Linked DNA regions of Homo sapiens: all the other regions are linked to region 1. The links are contacts of gene promoters, found by promoter capture Hi-C in blood cells and fetal thymus (Javierre and others, 2016). All regions are on one chromosome and are shown on one strand. Each heading gives the region's core, a stretch centred on a gene start or on the middle of the fragment in contact. The rest is flanking DNA. Distances are from core to core; before and after follow the strand shown.

The links. The method cuts DNA at HindIII sites, captures the fragments that hold promoters and counts their contacts. A CHiCAGO score of 5 or more calls a contact.
Region 2: a contact is called between a fragment that was not itself captured here and the fragment with the promoter of DOC2A in region 1, in 13 of 17 cell types (M2 macrophages, endothelial precursors, activated CD4 T cells and 10 more). The highest score is 10.5, in M2 macrophages.
Region 3: a fragment that was not itself captured here is called in contact with the fragment with the promoter of DOC2A in region 1 in 6 of 17 cell types (M1 macrophages, endothelial precursors, M2 macrophages and 3 more); the score reaches 8.8 in M1 macrophages.
Region 4: a contact is called between the fragment with the promoter of MVP here and the fragment with the promoter of DOC2A in region 1, in 13 of 17 cell types (erythroblasts, megakaryocytes, M2 macrophages and 10 more). The highest score is 11.5, in erythroblasts.

Annotation. Positions count from the first base shown.
Region 1 is chr16:30,009,741-30,012,342 of GRCh38, reverse strand. It overlaps DOC2A (double C2 domain alpha), which reads left to right and starts at 1,316. Exons shown (of 11, transcript NM_003586.3): 1 at 1,316-1,440; 2 at 2,108-2,382. The coding sequence starts at 2,121. RefSeq lists a silencer at 1,350-1,409. The HindIII fragment of the contact is 12,263 bases long and covers 1-2,602 here.
Region 2 is chr16:29,770,372-29,772,973 of GRCh38, reverse strand. No RefSeq gene overlaps it. Among named protein-coding and RNA genes, the nearest start is that of ZG16, 6.6 kb to the left of the region's middle. The HindIII fragment of the contact is 4,460 bases long and covers 1-2,602 here.
Region 3 is chr16:29,797,985-29,800,586 of GRCh38, reverse strand. KIF22 (kinesin family member 22) reads right to left here. Exons shown (of 14, transcript NM_007317.3): 3 at 2,086-2,213; 4 at 1,840-1,994; 5 at 1,403-1,612; 6 at 1,093-1,323; 7 at 806-959; 8 at 539-674. Among named protein-coding and RNA genes, the nearest start is that of MAZ, 7.2 kb to the left of the region's middle. The HindIII fragment of the contact is 5,122 bases long and covers 1-2,602 here.
Region 4 is chr16:29,819,164-29,821,765 of GRCh38, reverse strand. MVP (major vault protein) reads right to left here and starts at 1,304. Exons shown (of 15, transcript NM_005115.5): 1 at 1,256-1,304. It overlaps PAGR1 (PAXIP1 associated glutamate rich protein 1), which reads right to left. Exons shown (of 3, transcript NM_024516.4): 3 at 1-2,211. The coding sequence ends at 2,012. MVP-DT (MVP divergent transcript) reads left to right here and starts at 1,399. Exons shown (of 4, transcript NR_186424.1): 1 at 1,399-1,582; 2 at 2,165-2,226. RefSeq lists enhancers at 581-870, 333-899, 1,591-1,660. The HindIII fragment of the contact is 7,186 bases long and covers 1-2,602 here.

The DNA.
Region 1 (2,602 bases), core at 67-2,566:
TGGTGGGGGAGGCACTGGCGAAGCGGTGCTGAGCCGAGTCCTGACGGCGCTGGAGCTGAGGGGCAGTGCGGGATGCCCCAGGAAGGCTCCTAGGAAGAGGGGACCCACGGTGACTTCCTAAGGAAGCGCGGTTCCCAGGTAGAGGAGCGCATGTGAGCCAAGATCCCTAGGCCTGAGCCGTCTAGGTGTGTCCCAGGAACTGCAGGAAACGGTTGGGTGAGTCAGTGGTGGGCAGCGAGGGTGATAAGCCCCTTCGTGTCTTCGGGATGGTAAGTTTGGGGCACAGGTGAGTGAAGACCGAAGGCCAGGGGTGGACTGACACTCCGTGGCAGGCGCAGGGCCGGGCAGGGGGGCGGCTTGGGGGTGGCAAGGTTTGGGTGAGAAATGGCAGCCCATGGGGAACTACCGCAGGGCTCTGAGACCTTCAGAGCCAAGCCCCGACGCCCCTTCCCACCTGCGGGGCAGAACTGGGGATGGCAGGGGGGAGGGTGGTTCCCAAAGGAGATACCATCCCTGGTAAGGGGACATGGGCCCCTGGGAGTTGGGTTGGGCCACAAGGAGAGAGGCCTGAACGGCCAAAGGGAGGGGGCGTGGGGGAAGCCGCAGCATCAGACCTCTGCCTCCTCCCTCAGATCGTGAGGCTCCCCAGCCTGGCTCGGGAGACCCCGAGATCCCCGGCCGGTGACAGCAGGCGACCCCCTGCTCCTGTCAACCTGTGGGTCCCTACGGACGTGGGGAAGGGAGGAGGGAGGCCCCAGCTCCCTGCGGGGGAGGGGCGTGAAGACGCGCGGGGGTGGGGGGAGATGAGCCGGCGTCGCCATGACAACGAGGCCGGTGGTCCGGCCTTGGGGACCCGGGAGGGAGGGAGGCGCCGTGGCCGCGCGCGCGGGCGGGGGCGGGGGGCCAGGTCTCCCAGGAGTAGTTGGGGAACACCCGGCGATTCTGGCGGCTGCTTCCTGGTGGCGCAGGGAGCCCGCGTGTTTGCGAGTGCGTGTGTGTGCGAAGTTCTCCGGGTAAGTGTGCCAGCGCGCGCCTGGGTGTGTGCAAGGGTGTGAGCGTGCACACGTGGGCACGGGCGTGTGCGCGCGGGGGTGCCCGGTTGGATGTGTGCACACGAGTGTGTGCCGGTCCGCGTGCCCCTGCGTGAGTGTGCGCGCGCGAGCACACGTGTGTGTGCGCGCTCGCGTGCGCTCCCGAGCGGGCCCCGGGTGGGAGTCCGAGATCCCGCCCCCTCCCCAGCCCCAGCGCCCCTCCCCGTCCCCCGCCGCCGCGCCGGCTGCATCCTCGCCTCCACCTCGCTCACCCCCTCCTCCCCGCACTTTCTCGGCGCTCCCTCCCTCTCGGCTCGCACAGCTCGACTCCGCGCTCTCCTCGCCGGCCGCCGCCGCCCAGCCTGCGCCCGCCGTCCCCCCAGTGCCTGGGCACCTGTTGGAGGCAGAGGCAGGTGCAGGGGGCTGGGCAGGCCGGGGGCGTGAGGGTGCGGGGAAGCGTGCCAGCCTGTGTGCGCTACGGGGGTGTTCGGCTCTCCTGCGGCTGCAATTTCTGGCTCCCCTGAGGAGCCAGAGGTGGCATCTGAGGCTGGGGTCTCCACCGTGGGCTGTGGTGAGCGAGCGGGGGAACCAGGCAGGCAGACAGGTCCTGGGGCTGAATGAGGGGACAGTGGGCAGTTGGAGCCTAGAGGGGTGGGTGACACCCTGACTAGACCAGCGCCTGGTGCAGAGGAGGACAGAGCCTCCGAGAAACAGAGGCGGGGCCCTGCAGGGCCCCTTGGGGGACAGGCAGGCTCAGGAGCAGAGGGGAGCCCCGGAGGAGAGGAAGGAGCTGGCAAGATGATACAGGGACAACCTAGAAGTGGGTGGGTGAGGACGGGGTGGTGCAACCTCGACTTCTGCAAGGAGTGGGTTGGCAGCCCAGCCCCTGTGGAGTCAGCTTGGGGTCTGCAGGGCCCAGGCCTCCCACCTGCCACCGGCTGGCACACACCACCCTCTCCCTCGACACCTAGGAAGGGAGGCCAGTGAGGGCCCCACAGACCGAGGAGGCCGTCGCCTGGCCCTCAGCCAGGATGGCTAGGTATGATGGGCTCACTGGCTCACACGCCCTCTCCTAGCCAGGGGTGCTGCATGAGGGGCCGCAGGGGCGATCGCATGACCATCAACATCCAGGAGCACATGGCCATCAACGTGTGCCCCGGGCCCATCCGGCCCATCCGCCAGATCTCTGACTACTTCCCCCGGGGACCAGGACCTGAAGGGGGCGGCGGGGGCGGCGGGGAGGCCCCCGCCCATCTGGTCCCCCTGGCTCTGGCCCCCCCTGCAGCCCTCCTTGGGGCCACCACGCCTGAGGATGGTGCGGAGGTGGACAGCTATGACTCGGATGATGCCAGTGAGTCTGGGGGCTTGGAGGCCCCATGTGCTGGTGGGGGTCTCCAGGCTTGCCGTGGTGGGGGGAGAGGGGGATGGGCCCTGCTGGCTGTGCATGTAGGTAGGGGAGGAGGGCAGTGGGGGGGTGGCAGGGACGGCCACCACAGCTGCAGTCAGCGTGGAGATTACAGCTTCAGCAAGGCTCAATATTCAGTATTTCTGCTGAGACACTCCACCACCCA
Region 2 (2,602 bases), core at 62-2,561, 240 kb after region 1:
TGAGGCTGCAGAGAGTTATGATCATGCCATTGCACTCCAGCCTGGGTGACAGAGCGAGACTCCGTCTCAAAATAAATAAATAAATAAACAAAAAAAAAATATTTTAAAAGGAGAAATGAATGGACCCGAAAGATAGGAATTAACTTGTAAATGATTCTCTTTGGAATTTGAATAAGCCCAAGAGACTGACTATCTTGTGAAAAAGTCTGTCTATGTTTGGTCACATGCTTCAGTCTTATTTTCTGCCATAATGAGGTTATCTGCCATAGATAACAAGCTGAAAGTGTGATGAATTTGGAAATAATGAAGAGAGGAGGGTGGCTGGAGGGAAATGAGGGAAGCCGACCTGTGAGGCCTGGGCAGCAGCCAGTGGGCAGAGTGTGCAGAGCCTGAGAGGTGTGGTCAGGAGTTTGGCTTTTTTTTTTTTTTGGAGATGGAGTCTCACTCTGTCACCAGGCTGGAGTGCAGTGATGCAATCTCAGCTCACTGCAACCTCTGACTCCCTGGTTCAAGCGATTCTCCTGCCACAGCCTCCCAAGTAGGTGAGATTACAGGCATGCGCCACCACGCACAGCTAATTTTTGTATTTTTAGTAGAGACGGGGTTTCGCCATGTTGGCAGGATGGTCTCGAACTCCTGACCTCGTGATCCGCCTGCCTCGGCCTCCCAAAGTGCTGGGATTACAGGTGTGTGAGCCACCGCGCCCGGCCTGGAGGAGTTTGGCTTCTTTTCTCACAGTGAGGGGAGACATGGAAGGGTTTTGAACAGAGGGGTACATGCTCATATTTGCATTTTAGAAGGATTGCTCTCTCCTGATTTTGATAAAGTGGAGGAGGGACTTGGGCAGGGTAAGAGTGGAGACAGGCATGGCAGATGTGGTGTGACCTTCTCCCCTCCCATCTAGAATTCCCCTGAAAGCTCCTCCCTCTCTCAGGTGAAGCAGCTTTGCCCTCTTTTCAAAGTTTTGATGCAATTTCAGACCTGTGGTGGGGATCTGCCTCTCCACCCCCATCCAGAAGGTTTCCGACACCTGTGGCTCATGCCTGTAATCCTAGCAATTTGGGAGGCCAAGGCAGGACGATAGCTTGAGGCCAGGAGTTTGAGACCAGCCTGGTCATCATAGCAAGACCCCCCCCACCCATCCCCACAAAAACTAAAAAACTAATTTAAAAAAATTATTTGAGGGCTGAGCACTGTGGCTCATACCTATAATCCCAGCACTTTGGGAGGGCAAGGCAGGCAGATCTTTGAGGTCAGAAGTTCGAGACCAGCGTGACCAACATGGTGAAACCTTGTCTCTACTAAAAATACAAAAATTATCCGGGCATGGTGGTGGATGCCTGTAATCTGCTGCAGCTGCTTGGGAGGATGAGGCAGAAGAATGGCTTGAACCCGGGAGGCAGAGGCTGCAGTGAGCAGAGATCGCACCATTGCACTCCAGCCTGGGCCACAGAGCGAGACTCCATCTCAAAAAAAAAAAAAAATTAGCTGGGCATAGTGGTACACACCTGCAGTCTCAGTACTTGGAGGACTGAGGTCGGAGGATTGCTTGAGCCCAGGAGTTTGAGGCTGTAGAGAGTTATGATCATGCCATTGCACTCCAGCCTGGGCAACAGAGTAAGACCGTGTCTCAAATAAATAAATAAATAAAATAAAATAATAAAAATGTTTTGGCCAGTTGCGGTGGCTCACGCTTGTAATCCCAGCACTTTGGGAAGCTGAGGCTGGCAGATCACCTGAGGTCAAGAGTTTGAGACCAGCCTGGCAAACATGGTGAAACCCTGTCTCTACTAAAAATACAAAAATTAGCCAGACATGGTGGCAGGCACCTATAATCCCAGCTACTTGGGAGGCTGAGGCAGGAGAATCGCTTGAACCCAGGAGGTGGAGTTTGCAGTGAGCTAAGATCGCGCCATCGTACTCCAGCCTGGGTGACAAGAGTGAAACTCCGTCTCAAAAAAAAAAAAAAAAAGTTTCAAAATATATTTCCAAACAGTGGGAGATCTGTTTCCTGTTAAGAAAAAAACATTATCTGCTTCCTATTTATACACTGGGCCTTGGTGCACGTTTTCATTTGGAAGAAGGGTCTGACGGCATGAGCGCTGCTTTTCTGTTCACTCTTAGTTGTTCCAATGAATAAAGTAATGGGCAGAAGTGACTTCACCAGGTTGCCAAGGGGAGTCCTGCTCTCCGCCCACAGTGACCTGCAATTGCTAATCTTCAACTCTGCCCATGCACACTCCAGCTGCCTAAAATGCTCTCCTCCTTCTGCCCACCTGGCAACCTCCAGGTTATTCAGAGGGGACCACCACCAGCCTGCACCACCACCCACCCTTCTCACAGGAAGGCCTCAGCTCTCTTCTCCTCCCAGCTCCTCCTCTTCAAATAGAATTCATCATTCCTTTCTTTGGCTTCTGTGTGTTTCCTACATTACTCTATTATGGTTCTAATTACCCTGCACTATAATTTATATGTTTACATGTAAGCCTTCTCCACTAAACTGAGAGCTCATTCTCAGGCAGGGGCCATGACTCAGTCATCTCCAAATTCCCAGCATCTGGCATCACACCTGGTACAGAGTAAGCATCCGTGGATGGTTATC
Region 3 (2,602 bases), core at 28-2,527, 210 kb after region 1:
CACCATGTTGGCCAGGCTGGTCTTGAACTCCTGACCTCAGGTGATCCACCCGTCTTGGCCTCCCAAAGTGCTGGGATTACAGGCGTGAGCCACCGTGCCTAGCCAGGGTTGAATTCACTTATTTACTTTGAGACGGAGTCTTGCTGTGTCGCCCAGGCTGGAGTGCAATGGCCACAATCTCAGCTCACTGCAACCTCTGCTTCCTGGGTTCAAGGGATTCTCCTGCCTCAGCCTCCCAAGTAGCTGGGATTACAGGCACATGCCACCACATCCGGCTACTTTTTGTATTTTTTAGTAGAGATGAGGTTTCACCATGTTGGCCAGGCTGGTCTCGAACTCCTGACCTCAGGTGATCCACCCAACCTCAGTCTCCCAAAGTGCTGGGGTTACAGGAGTGAGCCACCGCATCCGGCCTAGGGTGAATTTAATGGGAGAGGAACAAGATCACAGCTCTCTGCTCAAGGATCTGACGGGCATTGCAGCTCTGCTGCTAAGCCATACATCAGGAAGGGGATACACCCAAGGCCCCACTGCTCACCTGAGTTTCTGGGAGGCAGAGGCTGGAGCTGCCATGGGCTCAGGGCTCCCGATCTCCTCTTCCTCAGGGCCTCGGGCTCTCTTTGCCTCTGGTGGACCAAGCAATTCTTTCTGAGACAGCTTAACAGGTCCCAAGGCTAGATGATTGGAGGATGGGGTGGAGAGAGGGATTGGGGGTGGTCAGCCTCTGTGCTGATGCTTGGTGGTTTCAACAAACTCCCTAATTTCCAGACCCAGCGTTTCCACTCCTGCCTCCCCCAGTTCTCACCATGAGGCTGCAGGCTCTCATTGGTAAAAGGCCGATTGATCACCTCCTTGGACCTGGCAGCAAAGTTGAGTGCGGAGACTGTGTCTAGGTAGAAGCGTCTCTCAGGGGCAATGTTGGCAATAAGGATACTGTGGGCTGAGCCACCCAGAGAGTCCTGAGGGTGAGACCAGGCAGTGGGTGGGTCAGAAGCCCAGCCTTCCTATGCCTCAACTGCTATTCCCCACCCCACAGCAGGCCTGAGAACCTCCTTCTGCAGCCCCTTCTTCCCTGAGACAGGTGGGCCTGACCTGCAATAGGCGAGTGAGCTTGCTGTCCCGATAAGGTACACGAGGGAGGCCCTGATTCAGCGCATCTACCACTTTGCCCAGGACAAACAGGGAGGTGTTGATGGCTCCACTCTCTTTTAGCCGAAGGCCCTTGTTGCCTGTGCGCCGGTTGTCCTCTGACCCAGCCAAGTCAATCAGGTAGAGTTTTCCCTCTCGCTGGCGAAATGGGGCCAAACGTTCCCGCTGGTCCACCTGGGGGTAAGAACAAAGGTCTCGTGCTTAGCTCAGGCTCCTGGGCTTCCCAGGTCCTCGCCCCTGTCTGCGGCCTCACCTTGACCAGGAGCACAGCATGACTGCGGGAGGAGCGCTGGTTGAGCCGGGTGGCTCCTACAGTCCGATTTCGACTGGCTGGCAGGAAGTGCCGCTCAAAATCAGCAAAGCTACTGATGGGCTTCTGGGAGAGACCCGGAATCAGGATATTCCCCCGGCAGTCTTCTCGGATTACCAGGTCTCCCGAAGCAGGGTCCAGGAGGTCTAATACCTGTGTAAGCAGTGAAGGGGAAGGGCAATTCTCCATAGAGAGGCTGTTTCTTCCTGGGGATCAGTTTCCTTTCTCTGTTCTATTCTCGGAGTTGTACCATCTGCTACCCCAGTCTCTGTCTTTCTAGGTCTCACCTTACCTCCCTGCTACAGCAGAGCTTCATGTTCTAGAACCAGGTCTTACTTTGACCCTTTGTTGCTCCTCTCCCAACCAGCACGGGGCCTCACCTTCTCCTGGTAGATCTCTAGGTAAGACATGGTGACAGAAAGGGCCCATGGCCGGCCCTCGGCACCCTCCTCCCTTGTGAGCTGCAGGAGGTCCATGAGAGCCCGCGGGATCACCCCAGGTTGCTCTGGGCTGCCCAGCATTGTGTGCGTCTTCCCTGGGAAGAGAGTGGAGAAAACTGTGAGGTTTTCCTCTCCGTTTCCCCAGCCCTTTCTGACCCATAGCTGTTTCTTTTCTGGCTCCCTCACCAGCTCCTGTGGGTCCATAGGCAAGCACACTGGCATTCTGCCCTTCCAGCAAGTGCCTTAGGATGGGCTGCACTGAACCTGCATAGATGTCCTGCTGAGTACTCCTCTCCCCATAGAAGGCATCAAACCTGCAGGAAGAAAGAAAGAAATTAGCGTGTGTGTGTGTGTGTGTGTGTGTGTGTGTGTGTAAGGGGTGGAGTGGGGTGGGGGTGGGTAAGGGATTCTACTCTCATCTGGACCTTGGATTTAAGAGAACGTCTCTATCCCCTTTCTTGTACAAAGACCTTAAAAAGCATCCACCTAACACCTACTCCATCCTCATCTCTCTATTGGTGTTAGGAATACAGAGATAGATCTGATATCCCTGCTCTTGGAGTTTTTCAGTCTGGTAGGATAGATATCCACACTTTGCTGTGATTTAGGAAACGAAGATAAGAACACACTCTCAAAGGAGTAACTGATTCTGCTCAAGGAAGGAAGATTTTGACCAAAGAAAGAAATTCTGAGAATCAAGAAT
Region 4 (2,602 bases), core at 55-2,554, 190 kb after region 1:
TTAACTCATGTTATCCTCACAAGAACCTGCAAGTTAAGAAATTTGCCCAAGAGCACACAGTTATCAAAGGACGGAGCCGGAAGTCCAACCTGGCTATAACTGTAGAGACCACAAACTAGGAGGCAGTGGCTTCTCAGGCAGAAACACAAAGATTCTAAGCCGAGAACAAGAACTAGAGGACCTGGGTGGGGCTGTGTACTGCCCAGATGGTGCTAATGGCAGTTCAAAGGTGAGTGTTTCCTGTAAGTTGGGCCAGCGCCCAGCCTCTGCTCCCCCAGAACCTGGGAGGGCAGCACCCAAGATAACCTGAGCACCCCGTTACCTTGGAGCCCTGAGGCTGTCTCTGGGCCACCCACTCAAGGTGGCCCCCCTACCTGCTCAAGGCTACATACAGAGGGCTGTCCTGCCCAAACAGCCACACCCGAGGGCCGACCCAGTGCTCTGTGTGCCAAGGGAGTTTCTGGCAGAGCCACCTGATACCCCACGTGACAGCTGGCCTCTCCCCCATCACCCAGGGGCTACCCAGGCAGAGAGCTGAGAACACAGGGGCCATCAGCCTCGCTATCACCTCCACCCCCAAGTGCTTGGCTCCCCAAGGGACAGCTCTAAAATCCCCAGAATCTCAGGCTGGTGGGTCCAGCTGAGCATCCTAGTTTTCACTTTCTCCTCCCAAAAAGGAAAGAACCTTGGTCACTAAATTCTACGCCTTCTGGAAATCACTCTGCTAATGACTTCCTGAATGATCGACTGAGACCAACAGCTGGCCCAGCCCTGCATGGAGGAGTAAGAAACCCTCATCTGTCAGAGTTAAGGGGCCTGAATGGGTACAGGTCACATTCTTGGAGCTCAAGGTGACAGGCCAGAGCCCAGGTCCCCAGGACAGTGCAGGTGAGTAGAGCAAGCACCGATCTAGGGCTAAGATGGGGTCTGAATGACCCTGTAAGGTTCCCCACCTGATTTCCCAGGTGGGACCCTGAAGTCAGAGAGAGGCCTGAGAGTTGCAGGGGGGTGGGGGACCGGTGTTGGTGTTAATCTGCCTTTACTTCAAAACCCAGAAGACTCCCAACTATTGGAAAGTGAAACCTCCAAAAGCAAAGCCACCACCCATCCTCCTTCCCCACTCTGATTCAGACATGTTTTCCCTGCCCCAGCAGAAGCAAGGCCCTTCAAAGCAAGACAGGACTAAAGAGAGCCTCAAGGGATACAAAGATCTGCCCCTGATTTGGGGTTTGGGGGGCTAGTACAATGTACTCACATCTAGAAGTGCAGGTAGCTGCAACAAACGCCTCAGATGGGGAACTCTCACCCTGCCTTGGGGATCACTTCCCGGCAGGGCAAGGCAGGCCAAGCCCAGGGGTGGGGCTTGGGAGTTAAAGGGCCCGTGTGCAGCTGGTTCTCATTTTATCCTCCGGGCTGCTTCTGCTGCAGCTGAAGGCACACTGCTCCCTGAGTGCTCATGGGTTTCTACCTTGGAGCCAGCTGGCTGCACTGGAGTGGGACTGGGAGGAGTTGGAGGGCCCGAGATGGGACAGGTGCTAACTGAGGGCACCTCTACCCATCTGGCTTTCATTTTCCAATCTGGGTGAGTACAATTCTGCCTCTCCCTTCAAGTGGGGCCTAACTGTTGAGCTACAGCTACAGCCCCTCCTTTTAAGAGATGATAGCTCTGCATCTTTTATTTCAGACTCAGAAAATTCAGTCCAGGTCTCTGAATAGGTGTTCAATAGAAAACACACACTCACACACTCTCTCTATATAGATGTTCAATAGAAAACACACACACTCTCTCTATAGGTGTTCAATAGAAAACACACACACACACTCTACAGGTGTTCAATAGAAAAAACACACACACACACTCACACTCTCTCTTCCTCTTTCCCGCAACGTGCTGTTTGGGAGCTTGAGGTTTCTCTCTTCTTCCCAAGTTTCTCAATGTCTGGGCTGGGGAAGGAGGGCCCAGGCTCCAGCAGGTACGGACACTGCACCCTAGAGGCAGGAGCAGTGGGAATCAGTATTTCCGCTGCCGAGGGAAGAGACTACTCCCGGAGGATCGGAGTGGGGGGCTGGCGGGGCTGGGGTCCTCCGAGTCCAGGCTGAAGAGGTCCCTCCCGGTACGAAGGATCTGCTCCTCCAGCTTCTTGTGTCTCTTCATGTCCGACAGCACCTTGTCCAGGCGGGCCTCCCGTTTCTGGCTCCGGGCTGAGCTTCCTGGAGAAGAGGAAGGTAAGATACATGGAAGGGATGGAGGTGGTGTACACCATACCTGCCTGGACCTCACTCATCACTTGGGGAGCTGGTTAAACATGCAGGTCCCCAGGCCTCTGTCTTGGAGGACCTGAGGTTCAGGGTTGGACCTCAGAGAGGGTGAGAAGCAAAGATCTTGATTGACAGGAAGGCACAGGTAATGTGAAGAACAGGGAGGAACATACTGGGCAGGGGAATGGCAAGGGTAGAGGCCCCAGGACAAGAACAGAGTTCTGTTCAAAGAAGAGTGCAGGCCGGGCATGGTGGTTCACGCTTGTAATGCCAGCACTTTGGGAGGCTGAGGTGGGCAACTCACGAGGTCAGGAGTTTGAGACCAGCCTGGCCAACACAAAAA